3 separate regions of the Homo sapiens genome follow, and all the other regions are linked to region 2. Evidence: promoter capture Hi-C in 16 types of primary human blood cells and fetal thymus (Javierre and others, 2016). All regions are on one chromosome and are shown on one strand. The core of a region is centred on a gene start or on the middle of the fragment in contact, and the rest is flanking DNA. Distances in the headings are between cores, read along the strand shown. Region 1 overlaps EIF3M (eukaryotic translation initiation factor 3 subunit M). Region 2 holds the start of WT1-AS (WT1 antisense RNA). Region 3 overlaps CCDC73 (coiled-coil domain containing 73).

Region 1 (2,700 bases), core at 162-2,661, 160 kb after region 2:
CTCCGCCTCCCAAAGTGCTGGGATTACAGGCGTGAGCCACCGCACCAGGCCTGTTGTGCATTTTAAAGGGTGTTACTGGTAACTAAGCCCTTACATGTCAGACACCATGCTGTGTGCTTCAAGTGGATTAAAAAGATTTCTTTAGCTGAGAAGGTTGAAGTATACTGTAGTTGCTAAAACTGGAAAATGACTTGCACCTGTGCTTACAGTGTGGCACAAGATAACTAATGAGTAAGATGTGGTTTTTTAAAAGTTTTTCTTTGAATTTTTATAGTTAAGTCATTATACTTTTTAATTTTAATTTTTATTGCAAAGTTAAAAATTCCTTAGTTTTTTATTCCTGGTACCACTACACTACCATAATTTACAGGGTAACATGCCTGATGTAATGAAAAGAAAAAGGCAAAGGTACAACAGATAAAAGACCTCAGGAATGTACATCTAATTGACACTACACTGCATTAATCAATAGTGCACTTTTTGCAACCTGTAGCTATGACAGTCCTGAACAAGAAGGCTTTCCTGTTTAAGCTGCAGTAACTTTTCTGACTGTGGATCATCATTCCTCTGTGGCAGATTTTTACAGTTCCTCTAATGCATTTGGATGATTGCCTCAAAGTAACTTGCAGCTTTTCTGACTTCTCCTTGCTTGCACTCCTGCCAAAAACTGTAGCCCTTTTCTGCTGTTTTTAGAACCTTGTGCTACCATATTTACCACCATAGAGACTGCCCAAGCTTTATCCACCAAAACTGCCCCCTTTCATGCATGGGTCCATAATTTGGTTGTCATTGTCCACTGTAATATCCAAAATCATTATAGTTCCCACCACCACCGTAATTACCACTCCCCAAATTACCTTCTTCATTGTAACCATCATATCCTCCACTGCTGCCACCATATCTACCACCACCATACCCGCCTCTACTATCAAAACCAGGACAACTGCGGTAGTTGCCACCATCACCTTCAAATCCATTATATCCAGCAACCCCTCCTCCATAACTACTTCTGCTGCCACCACCCCAGCACCATATCCTCCTCTTCCACCAGAGTTTCTACCCATGGCCAAAACTACCATCTCCAAAGTTTCCTCCACAACCCATAAAGTTGCTAGATCCACTCCACAACTGCATCTGTTGTTTAAAAAGGGCCCTTTTCACTTCACTAACGCCTGTTAATAGAGTGTTATTTCTGAACCACAATTTTATCATGATCATCAAAAGTTACAAAAGCAAATCCTCTCTTTTTTCCACTCTGCCAGTCCTCCTGTAACTTCTGTGGTTTCAATCTTGCGATACTTTTCAAAGTAGTCTCTCAAATTATGTTCTTCTGTATCTTCTTTAACATCACCAACAAAAATTTTCTTCACTGTTGGATGGGCACTGGGCTTTACAGAACTCTCTCTAGAAACAGCTGTCTTTGGTTCCATTGCACTCCTCAGCCTTGTGTGGTTGAGCACACATTGCTGCATCCACCTCTTCAACACAAGAGTAAGTCACAAAACCAGAGTTTGTGGAACATTTTGTTTGGGGGTCTCTGATTACCACACAACCTGTGAGTGTGCTCCATTTCTTAAAATGTTCTCTAAAACTACCATCTCTAGTTTCAAAGCTCAGACCACCAATAAACAGTTTTTTTTAGCTGCTCTGGCTCCTTTGGATCATGGCCTCTTCCAGGTTGAGTTCAGTATTAATTTTTTATTTTTAGAGACAGGGTCTGACCATGTTGCCCACACTGGAGTACAGTGGGTATTTGGCTGTTCACAGGTGCAATTGTAGTGCATTACAGCCTTGAATTCCTGGGCTCAAGCAAGCCTCCTTAGTAGGTGGGACTATTGGCATGCGCCACTGTGCCTAGGCATTTATATCACTACATTTAAGATGCGGGTTACCACTTAGCCATGCCTACAGTGGTATTTCTGAATCTTAGTAAACCTTAGTTTTGAAAGAAGTTTTAGATAGCATTTACCATTTTAAAATAAATGATACAGTTCCTGCTGATTTTGCCCAGGCTAAACTCAGATGTGGGGAGTAAGTATTTTTAGAAAATGAAAAAAGGAAAAGAAAAACCTCTTCCTCCTAGTTAGCAAAGCTTTCTATAAGCTGAAGATTCCACAGTTTAAAGAAGTCATGAGGAGTAAAGATAAACATTTTCTAAAAGTCCAGTTTGAATGACTGCATTTATTTATTTTGCCCTATTTACTCCAGTGAAACTGATGTATATAACTGTAAGAATAATTTAATTGGAAGGGTATCTTAAGTAGAGTTATTTAAATATTTGGTATTGTCTCAACTTCAGCCATACTGTCCTAACAGTTTCTGGGACACAAAACTTTTTTTGCGCCTAGGGCCTTTATACTTGGTTTTCCCTCTGCTTGGAAAGTCATCTTACCCCACCTTTCATGAACCCAGCTCTTTTCATGGCCAAGAAAAGGATATTTTACATCATTTTGGTCTCAGCTTACTTGCCATCTCTTCTGAGGGAGACTGCTTTCCCACTGTACATAAAGCGGCCTTTCCGTTTTCTGCCCTTGTTGCTTTGATTAAATCACCATTTATTTCCTTCATAGCACTTATTAGTTACTTTTCCTTAGTTGTCCATCTTTCCTACTAAAAGGAAGGTTTTATGACTTTTCCCATAGACAGGGACTTTGTCTCTCTTAGTCACCGTTATAATGTCATCAGCACAGTACCTGCCTC
Region 2 (2,700 bases), core at 149-2,648:
TACTGGAGGTGCATGTGCTCATTCTAGTTCTCTACGATACTTAATGTGCACCTAAGTGTGTGCCAACACCGTATTATAAGGGCTGGAGGTGCTCCTGGACATTTTAGCGCTGCGGAGGCAGCACAGCACAGGCGCTCACCCCCGCGCTGGTCCCACTCCGAATCCAGAGTCCAGACGTCTGAAAAGCGCTACGCTTGGTGACAATTTGGCGTTTCCTTAATTAACAAAACTCTCCCCAAGGCAGAGCCAGACACTGCGCCGGTCTCCTGGTTCCACTCCCGTGGGGACTAGCAGTCCCGGAATCTCTCGGACTCTAAGGGGCCCCAGACGCCCTCCCGGCTCTTGCGAACAGTCAGGCTCCTAGCTCTGCCTGGCTTTGGAGGATGTCGGGGGCCAGTGCCTGCGTGCACTCCCACTCTCCGGCCTCCTCCCCAGCCGCCGCTTCCGCTATCCTCACGGCCCTTGGGAAGCAGCTGGGTAAGAGCTGCGGTCAAAAGGGGTAGGAGAGGGGGGTGTCCTAGAGCGGAGAGTCCCTGGCGCCACTGCCCCGCGCGTAGGGGGCGCTCCCCGGCCTACTTACCCTGATTGCGAATAGCGGGCTGGCTCTCGAGGCAGCTGGGCAGGTAGGGCGCGTTAGGAAACATCCTGGCCTGGCCGGATGACGCCTGGCTGGGCGGAGGAGGACCGAAGGGCCCGTAGCGACAGGCTCCGGCTGTGCCAGTGAACTGGCCGGAAAAGTGGACAGTGAAGGCGCTCAGGCACTGCTCCTCGTGCGGCTCCGCGCCGCCCCAGCTCGGCTCCTGTTTGATGAAGGAGTGAGGCGGCGGCGGCGGGGGTGGCGGCGGAGCCGGTGGCGGCGCGGGGCCGCCCAACGACCCGTAAGCCGAAGCGCCCGGGGGCGCAAAGTCCAGCACCGGCGCCCACTGCGCCGCGCCGCTCACAGGCAGGGCACAGCCGCCGCCGCCACCCAGGGAGGGGACGGCGGGCAGCAGCGCGTTCAGGTCCCGCACGTCGGAGCCCATTTGCTGCGGCTCAGACCCGGACGCCCCGCGGCTCCTCCGGCCCTGGAGACGTTCAGCGCTGGCCTCGGCGGCGCCTAACTTGGCCCAGATGCCGCCCGGGTCCCGGACTCCCTGCTGCTCTGGCTGCTGTAGGCACCCAGGCCCGGAGCGGAGCGTGTGCTGAGACGCCGGCTCCGGGACACACGTGGAAGCCGGGTCCTGCAGCAAGAGGAAGTCCAGGATCGCGGCGAGGAGACGGCGGGGCCCGGGCGCCTGGGCTGCCGTCCCGGCTCTGGGTGGGTGGGTGGGTGAATGAGTAGGTGGGAGGGAGGGCGGGAAGTGGGGGAGCGGACAGGCGGTCGGGTTGCGGAGAGCCCCCGGGTGTGGGCGCTGCCTTGAACTCCTTACCCCAGCTGCCTGGCTGCCCTCAGCTTCCCAAAGCTCAAATAAGAGGGGCCGGCGGCGCGGGGAAGAGGAGGAGCCAGGAGGCTCGGCCGCTCCATTCACTCAGCAGCCCAAGCCCGGCCAGGCAGCGCGCGCTGCTCCTTGGGGGCGCCCTCGCAGCTGGGGTGAGGGCGGGTCCGAGGGAGCGTCCCTCTCGGAGACACCCTCCTCTTCAACCCAACACGCGCTCTCAGCTGGCCGGTGTGGCACAACCCTCCCCCCACCTCCCCTTCTTGGCCTTCGCCAGTGTGGGAGCCTCGTCTCACTGGAGAGTCCGTTCAGGTAAGCAGTGAGTCCGGGCAGGGTCGAATGCGGTGGGAGTAGAGATGGGGTTGTTAATCTAAAAGAGTGGTTTGGAGGGAGGGGCAGGTAGGCTCCAAGAGGGCGGGAACTTCAGGAAAGCGCAGAAAGAACTCAGTCAAGCTTCAAAGAAGCGTATACCCTTGCTTTGCACCCTTGAGTCTGGCTCTTGCTTCTAGAACTGTCGGGTAGGGGAGTGGCCATGATCTTGGGGTCACTGGGGAAAGAGGTGGCCCTTTGTGGGTTCCAGAGGTCGGGACTGAAAGCGAACGTCCCTCAGTTGGGTGGCCGGGAGTTGCACCAGTTATAAGCCGGGCGTATTTCGATCGGCTAGTAGTTGTTTACTTGGTGAGGTTTGCGCCAGGCGGAAGGCGGTTGCCGCCTACCTAAAATTGGAGTCAGCAGCACTTAGTTTCCCTTTCCAGTGAGGAATATCTAATTCTTCTACGGTTAAGCCGGGAAAACAGCGGCTAGTTTAGGAGGGAAGAAAACCCTTGGGCAAACGCCCAAAGCCTGCGTATATTCCGGCCGGAGCATCCTGGCGCCCAGTTTGGGGAGGAGGGGTGAAGGGGAGGGTTTGGATACGAAGCCCGGCAGGGAGCGGGTAACTCCTGGAGCCACTCCGCCGAGCACTGCCTGTGGCCCTGGTCGAGGATACCATTCTGGTTGCTCAGTGATTGACCAGGAGGCGGAAGCCAGTTAAGGGGACCAAGGAGTGGAGTAGGGAGAACCTCCATCGGCCCACGGGCGCGAGTTAGTGTTCGAATCTTTGGGAGCTCGAAGAGCTTCGCTAAATCTGACTCCCTTCGTCTAGTCTCTGTTTGGCAGCCCCCGCGCCCCAGAGCAGGTGTTTGGGGCGGGTAGGGGGTGTTTTGGTTTGGTTTTTGGATCTTCTAAAGGAGTCAGTATCTATTGGGAAACAACCCCTAGGCAAGGAGAAGAACCGGGGGCCGGA
Region 3 (2,700 bases), core at 172-2,671, 180 kb after region 2:
AGTGGCGTGATCTCGGCTCACTGCAAGCTCCACCTCCTGGGTTCACGCCATTCTCCTGCCTCAGCCTTCCGAGTAGGTGGGACTACAGGTGCCTGTCACCAAGCCCAGCTAATTTTTTTTTTTTTTTTGTATTTTTAGTAGAGACAGGGTTTCACCATGTCAGCCAGGATGGTCTCGATCTCCTGACCTCATGATCCGCCCACCTCAGCCTCCCAAAGTGCTGGGATTACAGGCATGAGCCACTGCACCCGGCCGGCAAAAGGCAGTTCTTACATGGCGGCAGCAAGAGAGAAGAGAGCTTGTGCAGGGAAACTCCCATTTTTAAAACCATCAGATCTTGTGGGATTTATTCACTGTCATGAGAATAGCACAGGAAAGACCCGCCCCCATGATTCAATTACCTCCCACTGGGTCCCTCCCATGACACATGGGAACTGTGGGAGTGACAATTCAAAATGTGATTTGGGTGGGGACAAAGCCAAACCATATCAAGGATAGTTCCTGATTTTTGTCTCAACTCTCCCAGAAGAGTTATACTATCTCACTTGAGGTTTCTCCTATTTAGAAAGGAAAATAAAATACATTGTTAAAAGCTGTTATTTGTTAAGGATGTGTTAGTACTATAATATTCATTTTGTATATGCTAAAGAGAAAGTTGTTTAATAGTTTGAACACTACAACCTTTTTCTTGCTTAAAGTTCTATACACTATGATATAAAACTTACACATTTAACCAGATAACCTTCCTGCTATAGTTAGTTGCTTTCTATATGACAAATAGACTCCTGGAAGCCATATAATTTCTACAAATACTTTAATACATATATCCATACAGTATCACATGGATACTTGATCCTTTCACACGTGTTCTAATTGAAATAGTTTTAAATTCTTTCCATCTCAGTTTCCAAAAATAATGTGAATTTACTTAAGGATTATTAAAAACAATTGGACTTGATTAGCTTACTTTTAGACATAACCTTTTATTAACATAAAATTTTAAATGCTCAAATACCACTATTTCCAAATTTAGATGAGTAAGAAATAGAAGTACATATCCGATGCCTCACACTCTCCTTCCCCAAACAGGCTGGATTGTATCTATTTGATTTATACACTGTGACTTTTTCCTGCTGTTTTCTATCAACCTTAATTGTGAAAAATGGTGCCATGTTGCCCTCTTGATATTATTTTGGAGATCAGTTAGGTCTTAAAGCATCCAGATGCGTACAGTTCTACACATATCTGTAGAATTAGCTCACTAAGGTCTGCTCGGCAATATTTTTAATTGACTTACATGTTCTGTGGGAAAAGAGGAATCATAAAAAGTCTTTGCCATTGCATTCTTCTCTTCACTGGGTTCTCCCTTGGGATCTGGATGGATACTCCAGTTATTCAAAGTGTCAGCAACTCTGTTAATGCTGGTAGTATCTGATTGATAAAGAGGAAATGGCAACAACTGAATTTTTCTCTAGGTACTCATTTTAGTGACTGAACTTGTTTCTGATCCTATGCTTTTGTATTTAAAAAGCAACAAATTTCTATTTTAATGTTGAATATTTTGCAGTTGTCCTAGACTTTGCTCTTAAATTAGGCATTTCATTTCTGAAAACAAACAAGATTTTATTATTGCTACTTTCTAAAACCTGATTACTGTAATTCCACATTAAAAGCAGTGAAAGAAATGGTATAAATACCTTCTAAAACAAAATAACTCATAAAATGTTATCATTATTCCCCTGGTTACTGTATTTCCCACACATGTAAGCATTTGTATAGTGAATATTTTACCAACTCAGATTAATGGAAAAAGTCAGAACCAACTACATACCAGATTTATAAACTATTTAAAGAAATTGGCCACAGTGAGAAGTCCAACAAAGGGCTGTTTAGAAGGGGTCACATTGGGCTTTAATAAATTGATAGAAATGAGTTAGAGAAGTATGTAAATTATGAAGGTTAAAAGATACTGATGGCATATTTAAGAGTATTTTACAAGTTGAATTTCTACAGAATTTTAGATATCACCCTTTGTATCTTATATATCACTGAAATTTAATTACAAGAAAGGACTTCAAAAAAAATGGTAGATTTTTAGACCAGCACCTAAAGCAATACCTAATTAAAAGTTAATGGAATCTTAAGTAATATATTTTGTGACCTTGAAAAATTGCAGTTTGGGAAATGAGGTTATACAGTGTTTTGGTTATTTGATTTTCGCCTACATTATTTCCCATTGGTAGTAGTAAACAAGATATGTTTTTGTTTTTAATCACCAAATAGTCTCTTTAAATTTTTCTCAATTTCCTTTTTAAAAGAAGCCTGTTAAATCTGAGGGCCATATAAAAGCTATCCTTGGAATCTGCATCTTTTTAAGGTGTCTAAGTGCACAATGTTAAACCCACAAAGTTCCCTTAAAATATAAGAATGCCTTTAACAACCTTAGCAACTTTTGACTATGAGATTGCTATTAAAAGAAAACATGCTGTCCCAAAAATAAAAACAATTAAAAAACCATTTTCCTCATGATCATACTTCTTAAATACTGCTTTTTATTTTCAATTTATATTTATACAGCACCAATTCATGATAATCTAGTATGTTTTTATTTTTAAATACTGTGAAAAATTTTCAGGCCGGGTGTGGTGGCTCCCAGCAATTTGGGAAGCTGAGGCAGGAGGATCACTTGAGCCCAGAAGT

The links. The method cuts DNA at HindIII sites, captures the fragments that hold promoters and counts their contacts. A CHiCAGO score of 5 or more calls a contact.
Region 1: a fragment that was not itself captured here is called in contact with the fragment with the promoter of WT1-AS in region 2 in 3 of 17 cell types (megakaryocytes, erythroblasts and M1 macrophages); the score reaches 9.1 in megakaryocytes.
Region 3: a contact is called between a fragment that was not itself captured here and the fragment with the promoter of WT1-AS in region 2, in 1 of 17 cell types (M2 macrophages). The highest score is 5.0, in M2 macrophages.

The regions. Positions count from the first base shown.
Region 1 is chr11:32,591,098-32,593,797 of GRCh38, forward strand. All of the region lies in intron 5 of EIF3M (eukaryotic translation initiation factor 3 subunit M), which reads left to right. It also overlaps the pseudogene HNRNPA3P9. Among named protein-coding and RNA genes, the nearest start is that of EIF3M, 8.6 kb to the left of the region's middle. The HindIII fragment of the contact is 1,357 bases long and covers 734-2,090 here.
Region 2 is chr11:32,434,120-32,436,819 of GRCh38, forward strand. WT1-AS (WT1 antisense RNA) reads left to right here and starts at 1,399. Exons shown (of 5, transcript NR_120548.1): 1 at 1,399-1,727. WT1 (WT1 transcription factor) reads right to left here and starts at 1,420. Exons shown (of 10, transcript NM_024426.6): 1 at 581-1,420. The coding sequence starts at 1,241. RefSeq lists enhancers at 1-353, 1,461-1,493, promoters at 1,221-2,419, 1,221-1,871, 1,513-1,615, 2,519-2,700 and cis regulatory regions at 1,800-1,837, 1,822-1,948, 2,041-2,060. The HindIII fragment of the contact is 4,267 bases long and covers 1-1,866 here.
Region 3 is chr11:32,609,835-32,612,534 of GRCh38, forward strand. CCDC73 (coiled-coil domain containing 73) reads right to left here. Exons shown (of 18, transcript NM_001008391.4): 17 at 1,298-1,431. Among named protein-coding and RNA genes, the nearest start is that of EIF3M, 27 kb to the left of the region's middle. The HindIII fragment of the contact is 7,325 bases long and covers 1-2,700 here.